Regions from separate parts of the Homo sapiens genome. Here all the other regions are linked to region 1. Evidence: promoter capture Hi-C in human tissues and cell types (Jung and others, 2019). All regions are on one chromosome and are shown on one strand. The core of a region is centred on a gene start or on the middle of the fragment in contact, and the rest is flanking DNA. Distances in the headings are between cores, read along the strand shown.

Region 1 (3,196 bases), core at 185-2,684:
CAGTGCCAGCAAAGAAGGTGTAATGAGTGTGAATAAAGAAAGACAATTATTTAAATAGATCAGATTATTTCAGGAAGTGCTCCCTGTTATGAAACAAAACAAGCTTCCTAGGACTGAGGTTCCAATGTAGACCCAGACAAAGGACCCCCAAAATTCCCAGCAGATGAGGAAGAGACCTTCCCTGGGCCCCCTCCTGGGAGTTCCACCCCTTGGTTTCTGCCCAGCTCTACAAAGGCTGTGTAACCTTGTGGGGGAGGGGGGAAGGGGGGCAGCTGAACCTGCCTGAGCTGAACCTGTTTGTGCCCCTTTCCTCCACTGGGAAAATAATTTTATTTTAATTTCATTTCATTTTATTTATTTTATTTTTTCAGAGACAAGAGTCTTGCTCTGTCACTCAGGCTGGAGTGCAATGATGCTATCATAGCTCACTGCAGCCTCGAATTCCTGGCCTCACTCAAGCGATCTTCTCGCCGCCTCGGCTTCCCAAAGTGCTGGGATTACAGGGGTGAACCAGCATGTTCCGATGAAGTCTCAGGCCAAATGTCACCCCTGTCATCCTCTGGTTTCCACAGGGTAGCCAGCACCTTCTCACTCCCTCGGGCACTTTTGTTTATTTTAGAGCGTTTTCTTGCTGTGGAATCCTTCCCCCCACTTTTTTTTTTTTTTTTTTTTTTTTTGAGACGGAGTCTCACTCTGTCACCCAGGCTGGAGTACAGTGGCGCGATCTCGGCTCACGGCAGCCTCCGCCTCCCGGATTCAAGCGATTCTCCTGCCTGAACCTCCCGAACAGCTGGGATTACAGGCGCGTGCCACTACGCCTGGCTAATTTTTGTATTTTTAGTAGAGATGGGGGGCGGGGGGGGGGGTCTCACCATGTTGGCCAGGCTAGTCTCGAACTACTGACCTTAAATGATCCGCCCACTTCGGCCTCTCAAAGTGCTGGGATTACAGGCGTGAGACACTGCGCCCAGCCCCTTCCTTTTTTGATTCCCATTTTTACAAGGCTGTAAGCTTCACGAAGGACAGAAACCTTGTCCATCTTGTCAACTATGATTTCCCCAGCACTGTGGCTCCGACCTGGCACATGGTAGGTGCTCGGTGAATACTGGTTTGAACAGACGACTGCGGCAGACGGCAAGGGCCACTCCTGTGCCAGGGCCTGCCACGCCACCGCAGCTTGTGCGGTGGGGGTGGGGAGGACTGGACAGTCTGGCTGTGCGCCCTTTTCTCCTTTTCAACGTCCCAGTATAACTTCAAGGGAGCGCAACTCCAGAGGCTCCCTGGACGAAGCTACCGCCCCGGAATCAGGGCCTTCCCAATTCTGCCTTCGGGGAGGGAGGATGGGGGTGGGCCGCGGGAGGCCAGTTCCAAGAGCGTCCTGAAGTCCCTCCCGCCGCCCCGCGTCGCTTTAAGGCGGAGGCCCGGGAGGGGGCCGACCCGGCTCGCCAGCTCCACGCTCGGCTCCAGACTCCGGCATTTCCTCCCCGCTAGCTGGCGCGGCCTCGCCTCCCCCTCGGAAGAGGAAACTCCCGGGGTCCGAGTAACAGGGTCAGGCGCGGAGAGGAGCGGCGGGAGAGCCAGGAGGGCCGCCCAGGGTAGGAGGCGAGCCAGGCCGGGCCAGAAGCTGGCCGACGGCGGCGCGCGGGGGCGCCGGGCGGGGAGGGCCGCTGGGCCGGACTCAGCGCGCAGCCGGGGCAGGGCGCGGCCCGGGGCCCGAGAGCGCAGGGCGGGCCGCAGCTGGAAGGAACACTTGAGCTGGGAGAGGAGGCCGAGCTGGAGGGCGGCCTCCCTCGGGCCTGCGTTCGGGAAGCCGCCGCGGAGGAGGAGACGGGGACAGCGGGGCTGCCCGGGCGCTGTGCGCATGCTGGGCTTGGGTCGCCGCCGGGGCTTGCCCCCTGGGCTGCTCGGCCACCGCCGCCCCGGGCGCCCGGCATGTCGGTGCACTACACCCTCAATCTACGCGTCTTCTGGCCCCTGGTGACCGGCCTGTGCACCGCCCTGGTGTGCCTCTACCATGTCCTGCGGGGAAGCGGGGGCGCCCGGGCCGAGCCCGCCGACGGCGTGGATGGCGGCTTCCCGTTGCTTAAGGTGGCCGTCCTGCTCCTCCTCAGCTATGTCCTCCTGCGCTGTCGCCACGCTGTCCGGCAGCGCTTCCTGCCCGGGTCTCCCCGTCTGGAGGGTCACGCCGCCTTCTCCTCGAGACACTTCCGAGAGCCGGGCCTCAGCATCCTGCTGGAGAGTTACTACGAGCATGAGGTGCGCCTGTCTCCGCACGTGTTGGGCCACAGCAAGGCGCACGTGAGCCGGATCGTGGGCGAGCTGGTGCGGGCTGGCCGCGCCCGGGGGTCCCCCGGTCTCATTCCTGGGGGAGCGCTGGCCTTGGCCTTCCGCGGAGACTTCATCCAGGTGGGCAGCGCCTACGAGCAACATAAAATCCGCCGGCCCGACAGCTTCGACGTGCTGGTGCCACTGCGCCTCCCGCCGCTTGTGGCGCTGGAGCCACGGAGCCTGGGCGAGGAGCCAGCGCTGGCCCCGGCCTTCCGCGGCTGCTTCTTGTGCGCCCTCAAGGCACCACCCTCACCATCGGGGGCCTCGGGGGGCCACTGGCTTCGGGACTGCAAACCCTTTGCTGATGCCTTCTGCGTGGATGTGCGCGGGCGGCGTCACCTCTCTGCTACTCTGGTGCTGCGCTGGTTCCAGTCGCATCTGCAGCGCTCCTTGGCCACTGTGCGTTACAGCCTGGAGGGGCGCTGTCGGGTCACCTTGACCCCAGGTGGCCTGGAACAGCCCCCCACCTTACACATCTTGCCCTGCCGCACTGACTACGGCTGCTGCCGCCTTTCTATGGCTGTGCGTCTCATCCCCGCTGTCCATCTGGGAGATGGGGTCTTCCTTGTGGCGCCACCACCGCCACCCTTGCCCAGCGCGCCCCTGTTGGAGCTCCCTGAGGGCCTGCGTGCGGAGGCACTGTGGGGTGTGAACACAGCACGCCAGGAGCAGAAGCTGCTGAGTTGGCTGCAGGAACGGGCAGCTCCAGGTGCCTGCTACCTCAAGTGCCTGCAGTTGCTTAAGGCTCTGCGCGATCTGGGGGCCCGTGGGCTGGACTCAGCGGCCGCCACCCAGTGGGGACGCATCCTATCCTCATATGTGCTCAAGACAGTGCTGCTGGCAGTGCTGCTGCGCAAGGGGGCCCCTG
Region 2 (3,037 bases), core at 538-3,037, 280 kb after region 1:
CATATTTTGGGATATTACATAGGATGGAATAATGGAATTGTGATACAGCTGGATCTACAAATAGGCTGGTTGACTTCATTTCACATCTACAATGCAATATTGGAGAAAGGGTGTGAGCTCTGAATTGGAGACCGATCTGGATTTGAATGTTGGTTCTGATGCTTCCTAATGAGATGAGTTTAGGCAAGTTTTTCTTTGTTTGTCTGTCTGTATCTCTCAGTTTCCATATTTGCAAAGCCACCTCATGGATATGTTAAGTGAGGTCATGCATGATGTCAGGTGCAAAGTTGACTCCTAGCCTGAGGTGCTTAGTCCAGGTTAGCTCCCTTCCGTGGTCCAGGTTAGCACCTTTACTTTGCCCTAGGTTGGCTCCCTTTTCTTAGTTTTGGTTAGCACCGTTTCTTTGGTCTAGGTTAACACCCTTTTCTGCACCCCACTTCTGGAAAGACTGTGGGACTTCCCACAAGGGGGCGCAGGTACAAAGGTATTGCAGCCGGGAAGCAGAGCACAGTCCCTGCCCGTGGAGGCTAAGGGGCCACCTTTGTATGTCTCTGCTGTGTGCAAACACCATCCTCTCAGGAGAGGGCACAATAAAATGATCTCAGTTATGAGTGCTCCAGGGGTTGGCCACAGCTCTGTTCTCCCTCTGGGGAGCCTGTCTTCTAGTTGCTATGCAATTTTCCGTCCTTCTCTTCCCAAAGGCACTGAGTGAAATCCCTTTTGTGACCAGGAGCTTTAGTTTTTACCAACTTTAAAGTAGATGATGTCGTACTTCCAGTGTTTTCACTATCAGGTTAGCTGAAGAAATTTGGACAGAATCAAGGGCCACTCAAAAAATGCTTGCATGAACACAGTGTAACATGCTTATGAAACCGACCCAATAGATCCACACACAGACTTCTTTTTTTTCTTTAAACATGGAAATCGACTCTTCTGGTTGTTTCGTTGTTGTTGTTTTTATTTCGTTTTGTTTTTGTTTTTGATGAAGTCTCATTATGTTGCCCAGGCTGGAGTGTGGGGGCACAATCTCGGCTCACTGCAACCTCTACCTCCCGGGTTCAAGCCATTCTCCTGTCTCAGCCTCCCAAGTAGCTGGGATTATAGGTGTGCGCCACCACGCCCAGCTAATTTTTGTATTTTAGGTAGAGACGGGGTTTCACCATGTTGGCCAGGCTGGTCTCGAACTCCTGACTTCAAGTGACCTGCCCACCTCAGCCTCCCAAAGTGCTGGGATTACAGGCATGAGCCACCATGTCTGGCCGCTTCTGGTCTTAAAGCTTGAAACTTACATTTGTTTTGTCTGAGTTCCTTCCTCAGAAAACATCTTCAGACCTCTCAAAAAATAAAAAATAAATTTAAAAAAAAAACTATCAAAGAACTGAAACTCACAAGATCACCACATCAGAACAATGAGGTATGGGACCCCTCATTTATCATGATTGCTTCCTTGCCCCTTCCTGTTTTCTTATACATTGTTACATTTCTTCCCTGTTATGTAAACCCCTAGATTTAGTCAGTCAGGGAGATGGATTTGAGCCTGAGCTCCCATCTCCTTGGCTGCAGCACCTGATTAAAGCCTTCTTCCTTGGCAGTAGTCATTGTCCCAGTCATTGGCTTTCTGTGTGGTGAGCAGCAGGACCAAGACTGAACCCCTGGTATTTTGGTAACACTTAGATTTTTTAAATTATTTTTAAAAATCAGTTATTGTTATGTTCCAGGTCTTACCTCATTCAATGCTCAGAACCACCCTATGAGATAGGTACTGTCATTATTATTATTTTGATACATGGTCTCATTCTGTCACCCTGGCTGGAATGCAGTGGTGCAATCTCAGCTCACTGCAGCCTGGATCTCCAGGGCTCAAGTAATCCTTTCATCTCAGCCTCCCGAGTAGCTGGGACCACAGGTGCATGCCACCACACCCAGCTAAATTTTATATTTTTTGTAGGAATGGGGTCACACTGTGTCCGGAATTTATTCCTTCCAGTGGGTTCTTGGTCTCTCTGACTTCAAGAATGAAGCTGCGGACCCTCGCAGTGAGTGTTACATCTCTCAAAGATGGTGTGTCCAGAGTTTGTTCCTTCAGATGTTCAGATGTGTCCAGAGTTTCTTCCTTCCGGTGAGTTCGTGGTCTTGCTAACTTCAGGAGTGAAGCCGCAGACCTTCGCAGTGAGTGTTATAGCCCTTAAAGGTGGCGTGTCCAGAGTTGTTTGTTCCTCCCGGTGGGTTCGTGGTCTCGTTGACTTCAGGAATGAAGCTGCAGACCCTCACAGTGAGTGTTACAGCTTGTAAAGATAGTGTGGACCCATAGAGTGAGCAGCAGCAAGATTTACTGTGAAGAGTGAAAGAACAAAGCTTCCACAGTGTGGAAGGGGACCCGAGCAGGTTGCAGCTGCTGGCTGGGGTAGCCAGCTTTTATTCCCTTATTTGTCTGCACCCATGTCTTGCTGATTGGTCCATCTTACAGAGTGCTGATTGGTGCATTTTTACAGAGTGCTGATCGGTGCATTTACAATCCTTTAACTAGACACAGAGTGCTGACTGGTGCATTTTTATAGAGTGCTTATTGGTGCATTTACAATCCTTTAGCTAGACACAGAGCGCTGATTGGTGCATTTTTACAGAGTGCTGATTGATGCATCTACAATCCTTTAACTAGACACAGAGTGCTGATTGGTGCATTTACAATCCTTTAGCTAGACACAGAGCGCTGATTGGTGCATTTTTATAGAGTGCTTATTGGTGCATTTACAATCCTTTAGCTAGACACAGAGCGCTGATTGGTGCATTTTTACAGAGTGCTGGTTGGTGCATTTACAATCCTCTAGCTAGACAGAAAAGTTCTCCAAGTCCCCACTCGACCCACAAGTCCAGCTGGCTCCACCTCTCAACATGATGTTGCCCAGGCTGGTCCTGAACTCCTGTACTTAAGTGATCCACTGGCCTCAGGCTCCCAAAGTGCTGGGATTACAGGTGTGAGCCACCAAACACAGCTGGTACTATTATTAGCCCCATTTGATGAGTGAAAAAAATAGAG
Region 3 (3,371 bases), core at 872-3,371, 320 kb after region 1:
CTGCAATAAAAACAATTTTTTTTTTTTTTTTTGAGACTGAATCTCGCTCTGTCGCCAGGCTGGAGTGCAGTGGCACGGTCTCAGCTCACTGCAACCTCCCACTCCCTGGTTCAAGCAATTCTCCTGCCTCAGCCTCCTGAGTACCTGAGATTACAGGCACGCGCCACAACAAAAACAATTTTTTAAAAATTATTTGGTCTGTTTTAAGTCAAATAAATGATGGTTCATTGGAACTAGTTAAAAACTTCTGTAGAATCATTTTCATAATTTTAACTGTGGGTCTTAAGTATGTAGGGATCTTACATTATTTACAGGATCATCACTAGCATATAGAACATTGATTTCATTTATGTTAAGAGGTTAATCATGGGTTTTCATGACAAAGTTCACCCCGTTAGAAGATAAAACGTGGGGGCCGGGCGCGGTGGCTCACACCTGTAATCCCAGCACTTTGGGAGGCCAAGGTGGGTGGATTGCCTGAGGTCAGGACTTCGGTAGCAGCCTGGCCAACATACTGAAACCCCGTCTCTACTAAAAATACAAAAAATTAGCTGGGCATGGTGGCAGGTGCCTGTAATCCCAGCTACTTGGGAGGCTGAGGCAGGAGACTCGCTTGAACCCAGGAGGCGGAGGTTGCTGTGAGCCGAGATCGTGCCATTGCACTCCAGCCTGGGCAACAGGAGGGACCTTCCATCTCAGAAAAAAAAAAAAAAAGAAGAAGAAGAAGACAAAATGTACGGCTGAAATTGGACTTTGTGGCCTTGTTTTGCCTCTCTCGGGGCAACTTCCTGCTCTTGGTGCTGGTCAATTTGCTGTTTTGTAAGGCCCTGGTTTCTCTTTCCTGTCTTTCAGGTAATAAATGGCCTCAATTAGAAAAATTAACCTTTGGACAATTCACAGGCTTCATGATCACATGTTCTAGCCAGGCCCAGGGCAGGAGATGGGAAAAGGAGATTAAAGATAAGAATCACAGCTGGCCATCTTCTGCTGGCACCTGTAGATCTAAAGCATTCTTTGTGACGGTTCCATGGTATTCCACTGTGCAGATGTCCTGTGACTGATTCAGCCCATCCCCTGTTGATGAATTTTTGAATTGCTCCCAGTTTTTTGTCATTATACACAAAGCTTGGCCTGACAATCCTTAGCAATTCTGGCTGAGTGTCTGGGTTTCGTGAGATCATTTTGGTGGTGCAGAACAGAACTCGTGGGTGGCTGGCCTGGCCTTATGTTAGCTTGAGGCGGGGAGAAGTGGGAGGCGGCAGAGAGCCAGGTAAATAGCTTGACTGTGACCTCATCCATATTCTAGGATGTAATTGATCCCTAGAAGATTTCTGAATTAGCTGAATGACAAACACAAGATACTTAGATGACCCATTCGAACCAGGAAGCCTTGCAACATCAAGTAAGGAGTCCTCAATTAACAGCCTTAGAAGACATGTCATTGCTTGGGCATGTGATTGAAAACCATTCAAATGGTGAAGTGAGAAACCCTAAATGGGATATGGAAAGGAGGAATTGAAATAGATGGTTCAATAGCCCTTATTGAGGAGGTGCTAGAGAAAAACCAGGAAGAAAGAAAGTAGGATAGTACCCTCTTTGTGCTTTTTCCAAGGCAACAGGAAACAGTATCATTCCTTTGAACCTGCAGCATACCTCATTTACTCCTCTAATAGTTAACAGGAAGCTAAGGGTAAGGTTCTCAGAAGGCCACTCCCACTTCATGTGACATCAGTGTGAGAGACTATTTCCTTATGGCCATTTCCTCCTCTCTCTTTCCCAATCCTTTTCTGTGGGTTTAGCTCTTTGTTTGTTTAGGTATTTGTTGCAGTGCAGGTGGTATGGTTACAGCATTTGTTCCCAACTGTGAAACAGATGTGCAATACACAAGCTCTTGTCAAATGGCAATGGAACAGAGAACTGTCCAACAGACTTGAAGCTAATTGTTGGCTGATCACATATAACATCCATCTTTCTATCTATCTATCATCTATCTACCCATCTGTCTATTTATCTGTCTATCTAATCTATGTGTGTTTTTGTATGTGTGTTCTATGAATGTGTATATATAATGTATATTATATGTGTAGATCTATTATATATGTAGATATGAATAAATATATACATAAATTGTATGGATATCTTTGTGTGTATATACATATAATATACACATATAATACACATATACGCATACAATATGAAGTTATATACATACATACATATATATAAATTTGTCAAAGATTCAAAACAAAGACCAAAATGATTTGTATCAGTCAGGCTAGTCTAAACTCTGCTGCATCAAAATAACACTATCTCAAAATCTAAATGTCTTAAAACATAAAGGTTTGTTTCTTGCTCATGAAAAGCTACTGTGGGTAGGTGCAGGTGGGCTGTGAGCCATGCAGTCATGCAGGAACCCGGGCTGGTGACTGGGTCCCCTTTGGGAATATCACTGGTTCCCATGGCAGTGGAAGGGGAGCTAGAGGGTCTCATTTTGGCTTTTGAATGCTTTCTCTTGGAAGTGACACAGTCACTTATGCTCACAGCCCACTGGCCAAAGATAGCCATATGCGATTGTCTTCCTGCAGCACAATGACCTGGAGGGGACTCCAGAGTCTCTCCCCAACTCCACTCCTGCAGCCCCTCTTGGAGTTAGAGCTTCTGAGTGCTTTGTTTGCTGGTGACCCTGAGTCCTGGCTTTCATTACATTGTTATTCGATCCCTTTGAAAGAGTTCTCATGATAAATTATTTTCAGAAATTGATCTTGGGAGGAAGTGTAGTCCTCTTGAAAAACTGGTATACTTCCTTTTTATTGCCACACATAGTGAGTATTAGATAACTTGTCATGATTCCCTTTTAGTCTTGGCTAATAAGAAGCTCAGGGCAAAATTTAGTTCTCAGTTACAGTCACTATGTTGGCCTGGGAATTTTGCAGGATTGCTCCTTCCTCTACCTGATTATAAGACATTTCCTATTTCTTTCTTTCTTTTTTTTTGAGACAGGGTCTCATTCTGTTGCCCAGGCTGGAGTACAATGGTGCGGTCATAGCTCACTGCAACCTCAGCCTTCTTGGCTCAAGCGATCCTCCCGCCTAGCCTCCTGAGTAGCTGAGATTACAGGCATGTACTACCATGCCCAGCTAATTTATATATATATATATTATATATATAATATATATATAAATCTATATATTATATATATAATATATATAATATAAATCTATATATATTATATATAATATATATATATCTATAATATATATATTATATATATATCTATATATCTAAAATATATATATCTATAATATATAGATCTATATATGATATATAGATCTATTAGATATATAATATATATATCTATATATCTATAGTAT

Evidence for each region. Contacts are between HindIII fragments. The study calls those that stand out against the background at their distance.
Region 2: a fragment that was not itself captured here is called in contact with the fragment with the promoter of ITPRIPL2 in region 1 in 2 of the 25 tissues and cell types used here (H1 embryonic stem cells and dorsolateral prefrontal cortex).
Region 3: a fragment that was not itself captured here is called in contact with the fragment with the promoter of ITPRIPL2 in region 1 in 2 of the 25 tissues and cell types used here (mesenchymal stem cells and mesendoderm cells).

What each region holds. Positions count from the first base shown.
Region 1 is chr16:19,112,530-19,115,725 of GRCh38, forward strand. It overlaps ITPRIPL2 (ITPRIP like 2), which reads left to right and starts at 1,435. Exons shown (of 1, transcript NM_001034841.4): 1 at 1,435-3,196. The coding sequence starts at 1,933. RefSeq lists silencers at 1,437-1,536, 1,627-1,996. The HindIII fragment of the contact is 3,376 bases long and covers 558-3,196 here.
Region 2 is chr16:19,388,897-19,391,933 of GRCh38, forward strand. The region is part of intron 1 of LOC105371114 (a long non-coding RNA gene); the gene reads right to left. Among named protein-coding and RNA genes, the nearest start is that of TMC5, 27 kb to the right of the region's middle. RefSeq lists an enhancer at 558-617. The HindIII fragment of the contact is 3,229 bases long and covers 174-3,037 here.
Region 3 is chr16:19,430,846-19,434,216 of GRCh38, forward strand. All of the region lies in intron 2 of TMC5 (transmembrane channel like 5), which reads left to right. Among named protein-coding and RNA genes, the nearest start is that of TMC5, 15 kb to the left of the region's middle. The HindIII fragment of the contact is 5,510 bases long and covers 1-3,371 here.